7 separate regions of the Homo sapiens genome follow, and regions 1, 2, 3, 4, 6 and 7 are each linked to region 5. Evidence: promoter capture Hi-C in 16 types of primary human blood cells and fetal thymus (Javierre and others, 2016). All regions are on one chromosome and are shown on one strand. The core of a region is centred on a gene start or on the middle of the fragment in contact, and the rest is flanking DNA. Distances in the headings are between cores, read along the strand shown.

Evidence for each region. Contacts are between HindIII fragments. The CHiCAGO score rates a contact against its expected background, and 5 or more counts as called.
Region 1: a contact is called between the fragment with the promoter of BAMBI here and the fragment with the promoter of LYZL1 in region 5, in 3 of 17 cell types (endothelial precursors, megakaryocytes and M2 macrophages). The highest score is 9.0, in endothelial precursors.
Region 2: a fragment that was not itself captured here is called in contact with the fragment with the promoter of LYZL1 in region 5 in 1 of 17 cell types (endothelial precursors); the score reaches 5.2 in endothelial precursors.
Region 3: a fragment that was not itself captured here is called in contact with the fragment with the promoter of LYZL1 in region 5 in 1 of 17 cell types (M2 macrophages); the score reaches 5.2 in M2 macrophages.
Region 4: a contact is called between a fragment that was not itself captured here and the fragment with the promoter of LYZL1 in region 5, in 1 of 17 cell types (megakaryocytes). The highest score is 5.8, in megakaryocytes.
Region 6: a fragment that was not itself captured here is called in contact with the fragment with the promoter of LYZL1 in region 5 in 4 of 17 cell types (M1 macrophages, endothelial precursors, megakaryocytes and 1 more); the score reaches 10.9 in M1 macrophages.
Region 7: a fragment that was not itself captured here is called in contact with the fragment with the promoter of LYZL1 in region 5 in 1 of 17 cell types (M0 macrophages); the score reaches 5.4 in M0 macrophages.

What each region holds. Positions count from the first base shown.
Region 1 is chr10:28,676,207-28,678,906 of GRCh38, reverse strand. BAMBI (BMP and activin membrane bound inhibitor) reads right to left here and starts at 1,386. Exons shown (of 3, transcript NM_012342.3): 1 at 934-1,386. The coding sequence starts at 1,009. RefSeq lists silencers at 489-633, 1,359-1,918. The HindIII fragment of the contact is 30,480 bases long and covers 1-2,700 here.
Region 2 is chr10:28,440,282-28,443,102 of GRCh38, reverse strand. The region is part of intron 1 of LINC02652 (long intergenic non-protein coding RNA 2652); the gene reads left to right. LOC107984216 (a long non-coding RNA gene) reads right to left here and starts at 1,941. Exons shown (of 3, transcript XR_001747401.2): 1 at 1,849-1,941; 2 at 1,471-1,648; 3 at 730-945. It also overlaps the pseudogene RN7SKP39. The HindIII fragment of the contact is 1,259 bases long and covers 690-1,948 here.
Region 3 is chr10:28,728,936-28,731,676 of GRCh38, reverse strand. No RefSeq gene overlaps it. Among named protein-coding and RNA genes, the nearest start is that of LINC01517, 13 kb to the left of the region's middle. The HindIII fragment of the contact is 7,767 bases long and covers 1-2,741 here.
Region 4 is chr10:28,610,477-28,613,176 of GRCh38, reverse strand. It overlaps WAC (WW domain containing adaptor with coiled-coil), which reads right to left. Exons shown (of 14, transcript NM_016628.5): 9 at 2,356-2,478; 10 at 1,255-1,403. Among named protein-coding and RNA genes, the nearest start is that of BAMBI, 66 kb to the left of the region's middle. The HindIII fragment of the contact is 1,431 bases long and covers 729-2,159 here.
Region 5 is chr10:29,287,712-29,290,439 of GRCh38, reverse strand. It overlaps LYZL1 (lysozyme like 1), which reads right to left and starts at 1,370. Exons shown (of 5, transcript NM_032517.6): 1 at 1,210-1,370. The HindIII fragment of the contact is 7,983 bases long and covers 1-2,728 here.
Region 6 is chr10:28,636,380-28,639,079 of GRCh38, reverse strand. No RefSeq gene overlaps it. Among named protein-coding and RNA genes, the nearest start is that of BAMBI, 40 kb to the left of the region's middle. The HindIII fragment of the contact is 5,426 bases long and covers 1-2,700 here.
Region 7 is chr10:28,706,047-28,708,746 of GRCh38, reverse strand. LOC105376470 (a long non-coding RNA gene) reads right to left here and starts at 718. Exons shown (of 4, transcript XR_001747282.1): 1 at 546-718. The HindIII fragment of the contact is 7,969 bases long and covers 1-2,700 here.

The DNA.
Region 1 (2,700 bases), core at 137-2,636, 610 kb after region 5:
CGGAGACAGTTCGGGTTATTTCTTTCTAAAAGGTGAAAGCCTGCAGAGGAAAGAAGAAACTGACCCGCTGCCTTTTTTTTTTTTTTGGTCCTGTTTGTAAAATATGAGGTGAGTGGCAGTGAGACGCTGACAGAGCCTACTCCTCCCGGCTGCTGAAAAGCAACACAACACACACTTCTGCACACCTCGGACACCTAAACTCTCAGGGAGACCCACACACTCGCTCGCACACAGAGAGATGTACGCAGAGACACACTCACACAGAGACTCAGATGCACATTCAGAGATACAAAGACACTTAGAGACAGACACAGAAATGCATTCAGAAAGACACACTCAAGATCAGAGATACAGAGACTCACACATTCAGAGACACAAAGACTCAGAAAGAGACACAGAAATGCATTCAGAGATACATTCAAAGAGACACAGAGATACGCTGAGTGATACAGAGGTTCAGACACACTTTCAGAAACACAACGACACTCAGAGACACAAAAATGCATTTAGGGATACTGAGACTCAGAGACACACTCACAGAAATACACCCTGAGGCACTCACACAGACACGCTGAGGGCACGCGGCAGCTACAGGCCAGGATCTGCGATTCCTCCCGGCCGCCCGAGCCCCCAGGGTGCGGAAGCGGCGGCGTCGAGGCCGAGACTCCGGCCCCGCTCCCCGCTGGGCTGCAAACGCGCCGCTCCCCGCAGGCAGAGCCAGGAGGACCCTCTGATCAGCGCCTGCCCTTAGATCGGAGTCCGCATCCACGCGCCAGGCCACCGCCGCGACTTCTAAGAACACAGCAACTTGTCGCGACCTGCGGCTCCGGCGCAGGAGGGAGCCTCGCCTGCCGCTAACAAAGCCTCTGCAGCCGGCTCCAAAGCCCCGCGGCGAGGACGGGACCCCGGGCCCCGTGCGCCCCCGGCACCCACCTTTGGTGAGCAGCACGGCCATGGCGCAGAGCTCCAGCTGCAGCCAGATGAAGATGTAGCTGGAGTGGCGATCCATTGACGCCCCGCACGGCCGCGGCGCCCCCGCCGGCTTCCGGAGCCCCGGCTCGGCGGCAGCCTACGACCCCCGGAGCGCGCAGGGCATGGGCCCTGCCCGGAGCGGCGGGCGCCGTCAGCGGCGGGGCTGGGTTTCGGGCCGCTGCCGGAGCATGGAGCGCGGCTACAGGGCGCGCCCAGGAGCCCAGAAAAGTTTCCCGGTCCCCCGTCGGCGGCCACTGGCTCCCTTGCCCCGCTCGACTCTAGGGACGCACGCTAGCCCCGGGTCGGGAGTGGGCTCCCGGCCTTCAGTCCCCGCTAGCGGCCGTTCTCAGCGAAGAGAGTAGGGTCTCCACAGCACGCAAGGGTATCCGCCGCAGCTCCCGCCCGCGCCAGCCCAGGTCTCTCCGGCTCCGCGCCGTAAATAGCGCCCCGCGCCGGGAGCCGGCCTGCACCGCCCCGCCTCGCCCCGCCCCACGGCGTCCGATTGGCCGCCGGGCTCCTGTCAATCCGCCCCGCAGCGGGGGGCGGGCCCAGACGCGAGCGCTGGGGGACCTGCCCGGCGGCTCCGAGCGGCGCCGGCGTCTGGGGCGCCCGGCTGGGGCGCCCGGCTGGTGCGCTGCCGTCTCCCGCGCTCCCCCTTGCGGAGGCCTGCGCGTCAGTGACCTTCGCGAGGCGCCGGGGGAGCCCAGCCCCGGGACCGGCTCGGGAACCCGCCTCCGAGACCCTGACGGCTCAGCCTCGGGTGGTCAGCGTTCCCCAGCGCGGGGCTTCTTTTGGGTGCCCCCCGAAACACGCAGGGGGTCCGTGTGGTCGTCCTCCCCGGCCGCACTGCGTTTTCTGGAACCCCCAGGGGCGAGTGACAATGCCCCGGCCTGTGCAGGTGGCGGAGGAGGGTTCGGGTGGGAGCCCGGGGGAGGCGGCCCAGCGCTGGGGTCTGCATTCAGCCTTCGCCCCCCACCCCCTCAGCGTGTCCGCCTCGAGCTGCCCGCCATGGGATCAATAAAGCCCAGACAGACTGACTGTTGATCCGTTAGGAGCCGCTAGGTTCTCCCGGGTACGCGGGACGAGTAGCGGGCTAGAGACACTTAACGAAAATTAGCAAATCCAAAAGCACCCGGCGCCAACGAGACGACACTGGCCGAGACTGACACTCAATTAACCACCCCCCAAACAATGGCTGGCAAACACGCCGGCTGACCCTGATCAATATCAGCCCCGCAGTGATCTCCTCCTTGAGATGCTAATTCATTTATTAGGGATCGCGGGGCTGCCCTTCCCAAGGTACTCAAGGTGGTCTTGCTGTAGTTTTGTTTCCCCCTCCGCTTTGGAAGGAATTAAGGTTAAAACTCATTATCTGAGGGAATGTTCTTTTATCCTCTCCCTCCAAAACCTGAGATGAACAAAAGTCGACCATTTGCAAAATTCTTCTTGAGAATCTGCCAGAGCTTCCCTACCGGATATGTCAAAAGGGGGTGGGGGGTGGGGAAGGAAAGAAAGAGAAGCACATTTCATGCTAAGGTGAGAATTATAAAGACAAATCCTTTAGGACTAGAGTGCAGACATGAGCTTTGAGACTAAGAAAAATGTACATATGTCTTGAGGACTGAAAGTCAAGGCGAACATATCTCAAACGCCTAACCTTTTAAAGTTGTTGAAAGTCTGCAGAGCTGCAGGATGTAGTTAATGAAATTGTCTTTGAAAAATAATGTT
Region 2 (2,821 bases), core at 70-2,569, 850 kb after region 5:
GGGGTCTTGCTATGTTGCCCAGGCTAGTCTGGAACTCCTGAGCTCAAGTGATCCTCCCTCCTTGGCCTCACAGAGTATTGGGATTATAGGTGTGAGCCACCACACTGGGGCAAACAACAGGCAGTTTTCACTCTATTCTGGAAGAGACACCTCCTCAACTTTTGTGCTATTAAGAGTGAAGACACCTAAAGCCAAAGAAGAATGCTGGATGGAAGGGTGATGTGGCTGCAACGCTGATCACCCCATTGATGGCCAGGGTAGATTCTGCCCATCTGGGTAGCATCCTATCCAAGTCACTGCTGCACATGCCTCCTTCCTTGAACGGCCCACTGGCGGAGCAGGCTGCCTTCCCAGACAGAGGAGCACATTTCTTCAGTCCAGGGTGCGTAAGTGTCTGTGCCTCTTGCTAGAACATTCTAGTAAACTCTAGAGGCAACTGTGTGGAAGAGTGTAGTAAGGAAAGCTTCCAAGATTCCAGACAGAACCAAAGCAGATGCAGGAGCAGCCTGCCTGTCAAAAAGATAATTTATGTTCACTCACTACTTAAAACTTGAGTTCTGGAAATTGGCAAGAGAGAGATTAAAGTTGTCTGTAATTAGCTGTTACTACTTTCTACAGAGTGTTTATTGAGAGTGGAAAATCCTTTGGCCTTGTGGCCTCCTGGAAAACCCCAATTCAGTTTTCAAGCTTAACTCCAATGAGAATCTTCTCTGACCTTCTCAGGCACTTGTTTTTCCTCCCTGGAGCTCCCGCTCAGCCTGGCACATGGTTTAGTAGAACAATTTTCATTCTTCCATGATGATTGAACATTGAGATGTGTTTTTGGATCCCTCAAGGTCTGGCACTGTGTTTTACTTTTGTGCCCAGTGCTTGGGAAAGGAGGGAGGAGCGATGACTTAAATTGTAGTTCATAGATCACTGGACTGCAAAGGTCTCTTTCCAAACCTGAGGATGAGAACTGTGAATCAGAGCAAGGTTCTGGAGTATGAGCTGCAGGCAGTAGAGGAATGGGTGTGTTCTCTGCTGTAGGAAGAAAGCTGCAAACAAGAACAGATGCTCCTCCACTTATGATGGGGCTACATCCCAATAAACCCACTGTGAGTGGAAAACATCGCAAGTTGAAAATGCATCGAATAGAACTAATCTACTGAAATCATAGCTCAGCCTAGCCTACCTTAAACATGCTCAGAGCACTTATGTTTGTCCGCAGTTGGACAAAATCATCTAACGCAAAGCTGATTTTATATGAAAGTGTTAAATATCTTATGTAATTTATTGAGTACTGTATGGAAAATGAACAACAGAATGGCTGTGTGAATACCTGAAGTACTGTTTCTACTGAATTCATGTTGCTTTTGCACCATCATAAAGTCAAAAAATAATTAGTTGAAAAATTATAAGTAAGGACTGTCTGCATTTGGTGCCAAAAGAGTAGAAGGTGGCAGAAATAGAAATAGAAATAGTACTTACCAAAATTCACATTCTCTTCTTCCTGGGCACAGAGTCATATCACATTTCCCAGCCTACCTGGCAATGAGGTATGGCCGTGGGAGTGACTCCTGCCAATAGGATATGGTGGAAGTCCCACGAGGATCTCACATGAGGATCCTCCAGGCATTTCCCTCTTCTGCTGGCTGGATGCCAGTGTCTAGAGAGACCAAAATCAGAGCTGCTCCCCATCACTTTCCCCACCCAACAGGGAGCACAGGTTTGAACTCTTAAGCAAGTAAGAAATAACCTTGTGTTGTATGGGGGGTTAATTGTTACAGCAGCTGGCAATCCCTAGCTCATGCAGAGCGTTTGGCTGTTTTTCACCTGAGGCAGTGGTAGCCCAGACTCATCTCTTACCTGAAGCATTCTTGGGGTTCTTCAAGTTATAATGAGAGAGAAGACCCTTGAAGAGGAGAAAAAAATTACTCGACTGGCAAGATGAGGTTTCAGAGAAGCTTGATTTGACTATTAAGAGATATTTGATGGCCAGGCACAATGGCTCATGCCTGTAATCCCAGCACTTTGGGAGGCCGAGGTGGATAGATCACTTGAGGTCAGGAGTTCGAGACCAGCCTGGCCAACATAGTGAAACCCCATCTCTACTAAAAATACAAAAATTAGCCAGGCATACTGGTGCGCGCCTGTTATCCCATCTACTCAGGAGACTGAGGCAGGAGAATCGCTTGAACCCGGGAGGCGGAGGTTGCAGTGAGCCAAGATTGTGCCACTGCCCTCCAGCCTGGGTGACAGAGTGAGAGACTCTGTCTCAAAAAAACAAAACAAAACAAAAAACCAAAAAACAAGAGATATTTGACTTCATCTTGTACTTGAAGCTGGTGAAATGGGATGTAGCTCAGTTAACATGAGCCTTATGGTTAATATTAAACATTTATTTCTTCATTTCCTCCACTGATTCATTATTTTAATATTAGAGAAGGTTACTTAATAACATAAGAAAATACTCAAAACAAGCTGTTAAGCGAAAAAGCCTACTAGAAAATAGTAGATTCAGCATAATCCCACTTTTAAAAAGCAAGCCAAGAACCTAAAAATATATTCACATACACATTGACCTAGGAAGGTGACATCAAACTATCAAGTGGTCATTTGTAAGTAGTAATAATAAGTGTGATTTTTTATTTGTCTTTATTCTATTCAATGTTTTTCAGCCTCTTCCCAGTACACATGCATCACTTAGAGATTAACAACAGCAAAAGCAATAGAAGTTATTTTTAAGTAAAATATAGAGAAAAATGTTGTCTTGCAATTAAAAAAAAAAAGATCCAGTCTCTTCACTCATTATTACTGGGAGTTCTCGGTCAAACTCATA
Region 3 (2,741 bases), core at 20-2,519, 560 kb after region 5:
AAGGGAAAAACAAAACAGATCTTAAGCAAAGTCCTTACCCTTCAAAATGAGTCTTGTAACAATAGAAACAAGAAGACTGGGCGCAGTGGCTCACGCCTGTTATCCCAGCACTTTGGGAGGCCAAGGCTGGTAGATCCCTTGAGGCCAGGAGTTTGAGACCAGCCTGGCCAACATAGAGAAACCCCATCTCTACAAAAAATACAGAAATTGACCAGGCATGGTGGTGCAGGCCTATAATCCCAGCTACTCGGGAGGCTGACACACAAGAATTGCTTTAATCTGGGAGGCAGAGGTTGCAGTGAGCCGAGATTATGCCACTGCACTACAGCCTGGGTGACAGAGTGAAACTCTGTCTAGAAAGAAAAGGAAAAGAAAAGAAAAGACAGAGAGAGAAAGAGAGAGAGAGAGAAACAGAGAGAGAAAGAGAGGAAGAAAGAAGAAAGAAAAGAAAGAAAAAAAGAAAGAAAAGAAAGAAGAAAGAAAGGAGGGAGGGAAGGAAGGAAGAAAGAAAGAAAGAAAGAAAGAAAGAAAGAAAGAAAGAAAGAAAGAAAGAAAAAAGAAAGAAAGAAAGAAAAGAAAGAAAAGAAAAGAAAAGAAAGAAAAGAAAAGAAAAGAAAGAAAAGAAAAGAAAGCAAGCAAGCAAACAGGCCGGGCACGGTGGCTCATGCCTGTAATCCCAGCACTTTGGGAGGCCAAGATGAGGGATCACCTGAGGTCAGGAGTTCGAGACCAGCCTGTCCAACATGGCGAAAACCCATCTCTACTAAAAATACAAAAATTTGCTGGGTGGTGGCATGCGCCTGTAATCCCAACTACTCCGGAGGCTGAGGCAGGAGAATCACTTGAACTCAGGAGGCAGAGGTTACAATGAACTGAGATTGCGCTACTGCACTCCAGCCTGGGCAACAGAGCGAGATTCTGTCAAAAAAAAAAAAAGGAAGGAAGGAATGAGGAAAGGAAAGGGGAAAGGAAAAGGAAAGGAAAAAGGCACTGGACGGATTTTAATCGACTGTCAAGTCTACAAAGTCAAAATCAGTGTAAACATTTGGTTTCGTTTTCTGTCTCATTCCCCTGCATAACTGAACTCTGACAACAGGATAGGAAGCCAGAATCCCTCACTCCTGGCTCCTCTCATCTCTTCCAGCTCCAGCCCTGGGCATCACCTGAAGCCAAAACAGCCCCACTGGTAACCCCTAGCCAAGGTAGCGCTCACACCCCCAATTTAAACCCATTATTCTCTTTAGAAGAACCTGGAAGAAAATGTAGCATTCAAGAGGCCTCAAGCAAGCAGCTCTTTAGAAACAATTATCTCCTGCAAACTGTGGATGCCACTTTTTTTTTTCCTTTCTACTTTTTGGCACAAAACCCTTTAAAAATAGTGACTTACTGTTGCCTAACAGGATTAAATTCTTAACTGAGGCATTTTCGTCTAATCCATGCACTACCTTCTAATCCCCTGTGAGTCAGAATGTAAGGAAAAGTTTCTATTTTGACTCAAAAAACACATTCTTAGAAGTCCCCACACCCTTGCACTCCTCAGAGCCTCCTTGCTGAACAGGGCAACCCCAAAATGAATCTTCAACTGCGGCCTCAGGGAGAAAATTCTCAAAAGGACCTTAGCTCTAAATCCAGATCAACTCTTATTTACCACCCGATCTTGCCTTGAGCCACGACTTTTTTGCTCTTTTTTTTTTTTTTTTTTTTTGTCTCACTCTTGTTGCTTAGACTGGAGTGAAATGGCGCGGTCTTGGCTCACTGCAACCTCTGCCTCCCGGGTTCAAGCGATTCTCGTGCCTCAGCCTCCCAAGTAGCTGGGATTACAGGCTGTAATTGTGCCACCACATCCAGCTAATTTTTGTATTTTTAGTAGAGACGGGGTTTCACCATGTTGGCCAGGCTGGTCTTGAACTCCTGACCTCAGGTGATCTGCCTGCCTCAGCCTCCCAAAGTGCTGGGATTACAGGCGTGAGCCCCCATGCCTGGCCTCCTCTTTCCTTTTCCCTTCTTTTCTTTGATGTACAAGCAACAGAGATGTTCCTTCTTAGGGCAAGTGAACATTCCAGAGATCTTTCAAGGAAAAGGTCCCCTTGGAGCCGTGTTCCTGTGGACAAACTCAATGTTTCATTCTATGCTACAGATTTTATTTTGAAAATCTTAACCAGAGACTCATCAAGCATCACCAATCCATTCTAGATATTCCTTATTGTTGGAAATGTAGGAAAAATAATATTGAAGTAGGAATTAAAGCATCTAGATTTTTGTTTTGTTTTGTTTTTTTGTTTTTTGTTTTGTCTCATTCTGTCACCCAGGTTGGAGTGCAGAGGCGTGATCTCGGCTCACTGCAACCTCCACCTCCGGGGTTCAAGCAATTCTCCTGCCTCAGACTCCTGAGTAACTGGGACTACAGGTGCCTGCCACCACGCCCGGCTAATTTTTGTATTTTTAGTAGAGACAGGGTTTCATCATATTGGCCAGGCTGATCTCGAACTCCTGACCTTGTGATCCACCCACCTCAGCCTCCCAAAGTGCTGGGATTACAGGCGTGGGCCATCGTGCCCAGCCTAGATTTTATTTTATTTGTATTTATTTATTTTTTTAGAGACAGGGTCTCACTCTGTCACCTAAGCTGGAATGCAGTGGTGCAATCATAGCTCACTGCAGCTTTGAACCCCTGAGTTCAAGCGATCCTCCCCCCTTGACCTCCCAAGTGGCTGGGACTACAGGTATACACCACCACACCT
Region 4 (2,700 bases), core at 195-2,694, 680 kb after region 5:
AGGCTTGTTTCAAACTCTAGGCCTCAAGTGATCTGCCTGCCTCGGCCTCCCCCAGCAAATTTTCAAATTATTTTTGTAGAGATGGGGTCTTGCTATATTGCCCAGGGCCTAATTCAATCCTCCTGCCTTGGCCTCCTAAGTGCTGTAATTATAGCTGTGAGCCACCGCGCCCAGCCTTCTTAAAGGAGTTGAAATGCTCAGTTTACAAGTGACTATAAAACCAATACTACCACTTATTTCACTTTTAACCACTATTTACTATACTCTTAAAATGCCACCCTGAAGACAAGTTCTAAGCTCCAAAAATAACATCTCTTTTGCCAAAACTCACATTTTAATTCTTTCCTCCTTAAAATACTGGCAAATGATAAGGAACTGCATAATAAACTAACAACTGTAACTTGGAATTTTAAAAATCAATCTAAATTGACCCTAAAACATGCAATGATCAATGGCCAAGGTAGGGAAGGGATGAACAAACGGGAAGACTTAAAAGCTGACCAACCACCTCTTTCAAGTTATATTTCAATGCATTTTTATTTTTGGGCTTCTGCTTAATATCTTACAAAGAATTATTTGGCATTAAAAAGTCTGAAACAGCCCACTGTTTCAAAACTACTCAAAAGAAATTCCCCCTACATTTACCATTTAGACCAGCAATTTTCTAACTGCACCTATGGAGCCAACCATGTAAGATTCTGCTGGGACAAATACAGGCAATATAAGCTTAGTAAAATGGGTCCCTGTATTCACAAACACCTAGGTTTCAAATTCTGACTCTACCACAAAAACTTAACTGAGAGTTTGATTTTCTCATCTATTAAATAAAGCAAGTGATTCTCACGATGTGAAAGCTAAACATACATTAAGTTCTTAGCACAGAAACTGCCTCATTTTTGAAATACAAATATGGAAAAGTCACTGGAAAACATGTTCATTCATGTCTTTTGGAGTTTGAAAATTCTACAAATATTAAGACTCAGTATATCCTCTTTATCTCACTCTCCATGTGACAAATCCCAAAACCATTAGGGAACAGACTCAGATGGTTTATTAAAGTAGCACAGATTCAAAGCCCCCCTCTATCCCTCAGTGAACTGAGAAATTCTAGGCTGCATCTACTATCATACCTGTCATTCATTCCACCACTACACCTCATTCTCAGAGGGCTTTTTCTATAACAGATTCTAAAATGTTATTGACTTTCCAAAAGTAAGTAGTTTCTTTTCCGAATGTCCCTCAAAGGTGACATACCTTTGGCTGTGATGAAACAGGAGGAGTACTGATCAAAGGTTTGATAGGGACTGTGTTAGTTTGAGGTGTGCTTATTCTTGGAGAAACATATGATCTTGGGGATGACGCATCAGATGTTAAAGACATCGGAGACTGATTAGATGGCTGGGCTGTAAAAGAGGGAAGCAATTAATTTTAAAGAAAAACAAAACAAAACAAAAAACTAAAGTCCTTTGTAATATATGTGGCAAAGATATTTGTATTACTCTAAACCCCCCCACCCCCATATTACCCAGAGAACACTTATTGGAATAAATCAGAATCTGACCTTCTCACTGGGCCACACTGACTAAGTGAGCTGTGTGTTCAGAGGTAAGCACACCCAGTGTGGCCCACTCTCCTTTATGTGGCTGGAACAGGAAGCTAGGCCTGAACCTAATCTCACATGGAAGGCCTCCTCACCATCCTTATTTCTTCTTTCTTATTCTACATTTAGGCCCAGGTATCCCACGCAGTCTCCTGCTCATGAGGCTAGCCAGAGGGTTGCAAGAGTCTTTGCACCATTATACTTCCATTCCAGACAAGGCATTCCTGCTGTTTATCAGCTTTCTGACAAAGTGACCCTTTCACTTCCCATTTGCTCCTATGTGTATCTCTCTCCATTTGGATACCTTCATGAAGAGGGATATCTAATTCAAGGCAGAAAATGAGCATTTCCATATTATCCAGTCAAAAAACATCTAACGTCAATCTGAACCAAACTTCAACTCTTCAAATACATGCAATGTTTCACAAAGATATATGGCACATCATAGTTTACTTTCAGCTTTGGCATAAAAAAACTCATTAATAACAAAGTCTGAATTAAATACTGTCTTAAATAATTACAGATTTGATGGCAATACCTTAAGACAAATGTCAAAGCTTGCTTCATCTAAAAAGAAAGGAAATAAAAATACTACTGTATATGCCAGTGTTACAAAAAAAACAAAATTATTGTAGCTAATCTCTTAAAAAACTAAAAAAAAAAATGAAAGAAAAAACTAAATACAAAAAAGGGCTATTAATTCCAAAACAAAATCAAGATGCCATTCTAGAGATATCTAAGATGAGTAAGAATACCTTGTGTAGAGAGCTGAGCAGCTTGAGAAATCAGAGACGTTATGTTGAAAGCAGATGGTCCAGCAGTAAGAAACTTATGAATTATAGACTGCAGTGAGGCTTGTGTCACAGCTGCTGTAAGAACTAAAAACATATTATTTCATACATTCATATAAAAACAAGAGGCTTATGTGGCATTAGTAACAACCTGACAAGGAAGAGAACTCACAAGAAACTGGAATATTTCAACCTAGAACTCTCAAAATAAAAGCCTACTAGATAGGAGTAATACAATGGGTCCCAAATTTGAAATGATCTGAGGCAGAGAAAAAGAAACTTAATGGGTTTACAATAAAGGTAAACCAA
Region 5 (2,728 bases), core at 121-2,620:
ACAAAGCCTCATGAAAGGAGGAAAGCACCTGGGGGAGCAGAGGGGCAATAAAGAGACCCCTGCGGAATCATCTGAAATGGGAGTAGGATCAAGAGAGCTGTCTCCTGCTGCCTACTGATTTTCCACAATCTCTTCCCCTCTTGAAATAATGTCTTCCCCAAATACAACAGCCTTGCTGGGATGGGGTGAAGTGAAATTTCTGACAACTACTCGGGATCCTGAACTTGATGTTCTTACATATGTTCATCCCGTGTCATTTTCTGCACTTGCCTAGAAACTTCTCCAGTCATTAGTTTCTCTCCCTGGGGCTGGATTCCTGCATTGAAAGGCTAGGCCCAAAACAGGGATAAGTAGTCATCAGCAAGGCCACCGCACCAAGTAACAAGCAGGGCTTTAAGGTGACTAAGCAATAAGGTAAGGAACTGCATTGCATGAGGGGCATGTACATTACAAACGTGAATAGCAAGCGTGGGCAAACCAGGCCCGCTTTTGTATGTAAAGTTTTATTGAAACATAGCTACACCCATTTGGTAATATATCATTGGTGGCTGATTTCCAACTACAGTGGCAGAGTTCAGTAATTGTGTTTGAGGCCGTATAGACCACAAAGCCTAACATATTATTATCTGGCCCTTTTCAGAGAGAGCATGCCAGTCCGCTGTGTACAGCACTGTGTTAAGCTGTGAGGGACAGACAAACGAGGTTTAAGATGCAGAGCTAAGGCCAGGCATGGTGGGTGATACCTGTAATCCAAGCACTTTGGGAGGCTGAGGTGAGCAGATTGCTTGAAGCCAGGAGTTTGAGACTAGCCTGGGCAGCAAAGGTAGACCCTGCCTCTACAAAATATACAAAAATTAGCCAGGCATGGTGGTGTGTGCCTGTGGTCCCAGCTACTGGGGAGGCTGAGGTGGGAGGATCACTTGAGGCTGGGAGTTTGAGGCCATAGTGAGCCATGATTGTGACACTGCACTCCAGCCTGGGCAGCAGAGTGAGAGACCCTGTCTAAAAAAAAAAAAAAAAAAGAAAAGAAAAAAGAAAAAAAGATACAGAGCTTACAAATAGAGTTGGTTTCCATCCCCTGCCTTAGAATTTTACTGATCTCAAACAAGTCCAAAGAAAACCCGCAGCAATGATAACCCCAAGCATCATGTTCTACATCCTTCAAGAACCTGCCATTGCTGGTTCTCATAAGAGTAATTTAGGTCTTACTGAAAAGGCAGATTCCTGGTGCCTGCCCCAGAGGCTGACTTCTCAGTTGAGTCTGCGGAAGAAACACTGCTCCACTTAGTCGGTGACAGGCAGCTCAGGGGAGCGTCCTGCATCCCCTGAAGCCATGTCTGATTCTAACGAGGCGCGAGTAATCCTTTCCTAGCTCAAGAACATTTCTTTAGAGTGTTAGAGAAAGAAAAATTCTTAATCCTTTGTTTCTCACCACCTAGAGATGCTAGAATTCTACTTCTTGGCACTAAAAGCTGTATCATCCTGCATGCTTGTGTTCTGAGGCAGGTGATAACTGTCTTCTGGGGCTTAATACCTCTTGTTTTTTGTCTTTTCCCCTCAACAACCCTCCTCATTACACAACTTGGCCAGGGCCTCCTGTCCAAGTGAGAGCTCTTCTCTGAGGCGTCTGCAAACTTTATCACAAATTCCATTAATAAAGAAAGTTAAGCATGTATCCTCTTTAGATGTACATTGAGTTATAAATCATACTTCTGTACCTCAGTACTAATATGCTACATAAATTATCAACATACATAAAACTAAAATTTGAAAATTAATGACATAGAGGTGAAATTAACATTAAAAATTTATTAACAGCACATTTGCTATAGTCAAATTATTATTAATAAAATATTTTTGTAATAACATGATTTTATTATTTTTGAAAAATTTGGCTTAACACTTTGTGAATCAATAACTAAAGGGCTGTTTTCAAGGTCTATTTATTTCAATGTTCAGATTTAGTGACACATTTGAAATGAATTCTCATTAGAATATGTAGATCTAAGTAGAAGTTTATTGTTGGCTGCACCTAACTAATCGTTATATTTTCTTAAATTCCATCTGCCAATAATGCAAAGGTTTTGTTGAAATCTATTTTGAAGTTCATATAGTATTGCATTATACAGATACAACATAGCATACTTAGCCAATTTCATATTGATGCACACTTATTTTATTCTTCTATTGTAAACATATTACAACCAGTAATTTTGTACATATGTCATTTGTAACTTTACAAGAATATCTTGCTGGATCAAAGGGTATAATTTTGTAATTTTGCTAGATATTTGCCAAATTGCCTTTCACATGGGCTTGTATCAGGAAGATAGCACACTGTGTTATCAAATGTTTCAATATTTCTCAATATTAGAGATGAAACATAATTTTTCAGCAGAGTTTCAATTTCAACTTTCGTTATTTCAAGCTGCTTGAGGGTCTTTTTTATCTTTAGAAGCCATTAGTGGACTTCTTGTGAACAGTCTATAATATGAGAAAATGTATAGGTTTTTCCCTCAAACATCTTTTTCAAAATGCTTTGAAATAGGGATCTTACCAGTGAGAAAATAGAGACGGATTGTCTTTTTCTTTTTCAAAAATGCTTGCTTAGCAAGTTTTCAGATATGACGTAAATATACAAAAGCCATTTACAATCTTATATACTAGGAATAGAAAATAAGAGTTTGAAATAAAAAAAAATCCATTTACAATAGTACACAAATGCAAA
Region 6 (2,700 bases), core at 175-2,674, 650 kb after region 5:
AAGTCATAAATTGTGAAGTAATATTCGTAATACACACATCAATAAAAAAAGAGGATCTTCCCTATAGAAAGAGTTTCCTAAAGTCAACATTTTATATGATCATTTTTCACTCATCAGATTACCAATATATAATAAGAATGACAGTGCCTGGGCCAGAAAGGGTGTGACAAAGGGCATTCTCTTCAATGTTGCTGGCCAGATTAATTGGTCCATACTGCTGGAGGTCAGTTTGGCATTGTCAAAAGTCTTAAAAATAGATATTCCTTTTGGCCTAGCAATTTTGCATCTCAGAATTTCTCCTGAGCACTAAACAATCAAGTAATGTTACATATATAAGAATGTTATCTAAAGCACTATAAAAAATTAAGAAAAGCCTCCAGACTAGCTTACTGAAGTAGGCCAAAAAATTTTTTTTAATTAAAAAACTTTTAAAAAAAACCAACCTTGATGTCTAACAACAGGTGGTTGTCAGGAAATAAATGATGATATTGCTGTACTTAGAATAATATGTGGGCAGTAAAAATCATCATGTGGTTCTATGTTCCTTGACATGCAATGATATCCATCTATATGTTAAGTGTAAAGAGAAGTTAACAAAACAATATGGATGGGATGATTCTAGTTTTGTAAAGATATATTTTGTTTGTATAAGTTAACTAATTAAAAAAATCTGGAGATATATCTGTGTGTATATATATACATACATATATAAACAATGGTTATCCTTGAATAGAATAAATAAAGGATGTTTTATTTTTCTCCTTACACATTTCAATATTTTTCAAGCAATTTTTTTTCTTTTTTGAGACAGGGATCTTGCTCTGTTGCCCAGGCTGGAGTTCAGTGGCACTATCATAGCTCACTGCAGCCTCGAACTCCAGGCTAAAGTGATCCTCCCACCTCAGCCTCCCGAGTAGCTGGGACTAAAGTTGTGAACCACTATGTCCAATTTTTTATTTTTGTAGAGATGGGGTCTAATTATGTTTTCCAGGCTGGTCTCAAATTTCTGAGCTCAAACGATCCTCCTGCCTTGGCCTCCCAAACTGTTGGGATTATAGCTGTGAACCACTGCATCTGGCTTTTTTTTTTTTTTTTTTTAATGAGCATGTGTTTACTTTAAATTGGGGGTGGTTGCAGTGGTAGTAACTTTCCACTTTGAAAAAAACATTTCACAAAAACATAAAAAAATAATTGTGGTCCTTCTACATGAAATGACTGAGCAGTTACCAAAAATCCAATTTTGGTTTTGCATTTTCCCCCAAGACGGAAAGCTCTGTTTTGTCTACAATGCTCCTGGCAGAGGCTATGTTCCCTGCGTTCCCCTGTGTCTTCTCCCCAGCCCTTCTGAATACGTTGGCTTGGTTCAACCTAAATAACAATCAGCTAGTTCGACTCTAAGTCCTTGGAGCAGAAGGTGCAGATTAGTTTAATCTCATAAATAAACTAATTCCTCTGGAAGCAAGGACAAGTCACAGCTTAATTCAGATCTTCTTCCAATCAATGAAATCTTCGCTGGTGTGGACCAGGTGATCCGCTCAGGCTAGCAGCCCGATGGGTAAGGACACATGAGTCTCACCAGGACCCTGGGACCCCAGCCAGTAACACACAGTACTAGTACCCTCACAGTGGCCATGTAATTTATCATCCAAACAGAAACTGGTTTTTTTTTCTTTCTTTTTTTTCTTGAGACAGAGTCTTGCTCTGTCACCCAGGCTGGAGTATAGTGGCATGATCTCGGCTCACTGCAACCTCTGCCTCCCGGGTTCAAGCAATCCTCCTGCCTCAGCCTCCTGAGTAGCTGGGATTACAGGCATGCACCACCATGCTGGCTAATTTTTGTATTTTTAGTACAGACAGGGTTTCACCATGTTGGCCAGGCTGCTCTCGAACTCCTGACCTCAGGTAATCTGCCCGCCTCAGCCTCCCAAAATGCTGGGATGATAGGCGTGAGCCACTGCACCCATGATAGAAACACTTTTGAGAGGGAAATTTAGGGTTACTTGAGGTGCCAGTTCAACAGACATAAGTGGAACATTGCCAAGCAAACCAGGCTGCAGGGTCGCCCTCCCCAAGATGCTCATGGCTTTTAAGCTGAGATGAAGGCCTGTGGTCAGTGCCTACAGAAGCACAGTCCCACCTGCTCTGCCCTACTCAGGAATTCCTGAGATATAAGAGCAGTCAACCTCACTGGATTTATGGGTGACTTTGGGGTCTAACAGGGAGGGCTGAAAAAGAGCTCAAAAAACAAAGGTGGGTTCTTTATCTTATTTCACAAGCCTGGTTTTGTGTGTTTGGCAGGTGTTGCAGTAACCCCCTGACCGGAACAGCCCAGTAGCATGCCTGGATAGAGAAACCCTGCTCCATGCACACTTGCAACACAAGCCGCCCTGAGTCCGTGCAGGCCTGCAGGTACAGACAGGACCTCGTGGGAGGTCACTCCTGCAGCTTCATGGGCACTGTCATATCCAGTCTAAGGCTGGACCCTGCTCTCTGAAACCTCACTCAGTCACTTTCTTTTTTTCTTTCCTTTTTTTTTTTTTTTTTTTTTTGAGACAGAGTCTTGCTCTGTTGCCCAGGGTGGAGTGCAGTGGCACGACCTTGGCTCACCGTAACCTCTATCTCCCAGGTTCAGGTGAGTCTCCTGCCTCAGCCTCCTGTGTAGCTGGGATTACAGGCACCTGCCACCATGTCTGGCTAATT
Region 7 (2,700 bases), core at 60-2,559, 580 kb after region 5:
TAGCCACTTGTTGAGTAGCTACTCTGTGCAAAGAATTGTGCCAGGCACTTTGCGTATGTCTTCTTCTTCTTTTTTTTTTTTTTTTTTGACAGAGTTTTGCTCTCATCGCCCAGGCTGGAGTGCAGTGGCTCCATCTCGGCTCACTGCAACCTCCGCCTCCTGGGTTCAAGCAATTCTCCTGCCTCAGCCTCCTGAGTAGCTGGGACTACAGGCGTGTGCCACCTCGCCCGGCTAATTTTTTATATTTTTAGTAGAGATGGGGTTTCACCATGTTGGCCAGGCTGGTCTCGAACTCCTGACCTCAGGTGATCCGCCCACCTCGGCCTCCCAAAGTGCTGGGATTACAGGCATGAGCCACCGTGCCCGACCTCTTTGTGTATGTCTTTTTATTTAACCCTCTGAGATAGCTGATATGAGCCACACAGAGGCTGAGCAACCTGCTCAAGGAGCAGACTTAGGCTTGCCTGACTTATGGGCCCCCCTGCCCACCAGATTGACCTCCCTGACTCTTCAGTCTCCCATCTACCTTGGACAGATTCACTTACCCACCAACGTGCAGCAGTTTAAAGAAGACATCCTTTCATTCATCCATTGACTCATCAGTGAAGAAATTAACATTGTATAGCGCTCTTTCCAAAAACAATATGGCCAGGCTGTCTAGATCCCTCCCCTCAACCTTCGCCCTGACCACAACCACCACCCCAAGCACCCTGATCACAGCTACCACCCCAAGCCCCCACCCCAACCTGAGACATGTGGCAATTTCACTCCTTGTCCCTTGAGTCCATACCTCCATAACTCAGCATGTCACATGCATACCCATTGTGAAAAATATCCATTATCACCATAGTATTACCAACACATTATTACAGGGCTTTACATGTCACAGAACTCTTTCTGATGAATTATTTCATTTGATAATTACCTTAGGCTGAGGGAGGAGGGAGAAAGATAAATTATTTAAGGCTGGGCACGATGGCTCATGACCTTAATCCCAGCACTTTGGGAGGCCAAGGCAAGAGGATTGCTTGAGCCCAGGAGTTCAAGACCAGCCTGGGCAATATAGAGAGACTCTATCTCTATAAAAAAATACAAAAATTAGCTTAGCATGGTGGCTCATGCCTGTAGTCCCAGCTACTTGGGGGCGCTGAGGCCAGAGGATCACTTGAGCCCGGTAGGTTGAGGCTGCAGTGAGCTGTGATCATACCTCTGTACCCCAGCCTGGATGACAAAGTGAGACCCTGTCTCAAAAAAATTAATTAATTAAATTTAATTTAAAAATTAAAAAATTGGCCAGGTGTGACAGCTCATGCCTGTAATCCCAGCACTTTGGGAGGCTGAGGTAGGCAGATCACAAGGTCAGGAGTTCGAGACCAGCTTGGCCAACATGGTGAAACCCCATCTCTACTAAAAATACAAAAAGTTAGCCGGGCATGGTGGTGTGCATCTATAATCTCAGCTACTCAGGAGGCTGAGGCAGGAGAATCACTTGAACCTGGGAGGTGGAGGTTGCAGTGAGCTGAGATTGCACCATTGCACTCCAGCCTGGGTGACAGATAAGAGATTTCGGGAAAAAAAATTAAAAATTAAACTAACTAATTAATTAATACTAATAAAATTATTTAGGCCAGGTGCAGTGGCTCATGCCTGTAATCCCAGCAGTTTGGGAGGCTGAGGTGGGTAGATCACTTGAGGTCAGGAGTTTGAGACCAGCCTGGCCAACATGGTGAAACCCCATCTCTACTAAAAATACAAAAGTTAGCCCGGCGTGGTGGCAGGCGCCTGTAATCTCAGCTACTCAGGAGGCTGAGGTGTGAGAATAGCTTGAACCCGGGAGGCGGAGGTTGCAGTGAGCCGAGGTCGTGCCACTGCATTCCAGCCTGGGTAACAGAGCAAGACTCCATCTCAAAAAAGAAAAAAACCAAGCTGGTTACAGGTTGGTTGCAACCTGGTTACATTGTCACTTGATTGTATAGTATTTTGGTTTCCAGAAGCTCCTATATTAGGCTGAAGGGTGAAGAAGTTATCATTTTCCAACACATCTGCCTTTTTCTCCCCTTGCTTGAATCTCCAATATTTATCCCACCCAGTTCCTTTCTTTATCCTCTACTCTTCACTTTCAAGAAAAAATAGGGCCAGGAGCAATGGCTTACACCTGTAATCCCAGTGCTCTGGGAGGCCAAGGTGGGAGGCTCACATGAGGCCAGGAATTCAAGACCAACATGGGCAGCATAGCAAGAACTCCACTCATCTCTACAAAAAAAAAAAAAAAAAAAGAAAGAAAGAAAAAGAAAAAGAAAAGAAAAGAAATTGAGGAATTGACTGGTCATGGTTGTGCATGCCTGTAGTTCCAGCTACTCAGGATGCTCCTGAGGCAGAAGGATCACTTGAGCTCAGGAGTTCAAGGCTGCAGTGAGCTATGATTGTGCCGCTGCACTCCAGCCTGGGCAACACAGAGCAAGATTCCGTCTCTTAAAAGAAGCGACAGAAAAAAAAGAACAGAACCTATTTGCATGCACTAAAGTATAATAACTGAGAACAGATCAAAATGTAACTCTTGCCACGCCATTTTTATCAATAGGGATTCAATGTCTTATCGAAAGGCATAGTTTTAAAAGTTCACACGTTAGCTGATGGGTCGGGAGAAATGGCAGCGAGAGAGCAGCAGAGCTTCTGGAATTAGAAAACACACAGCTTCAG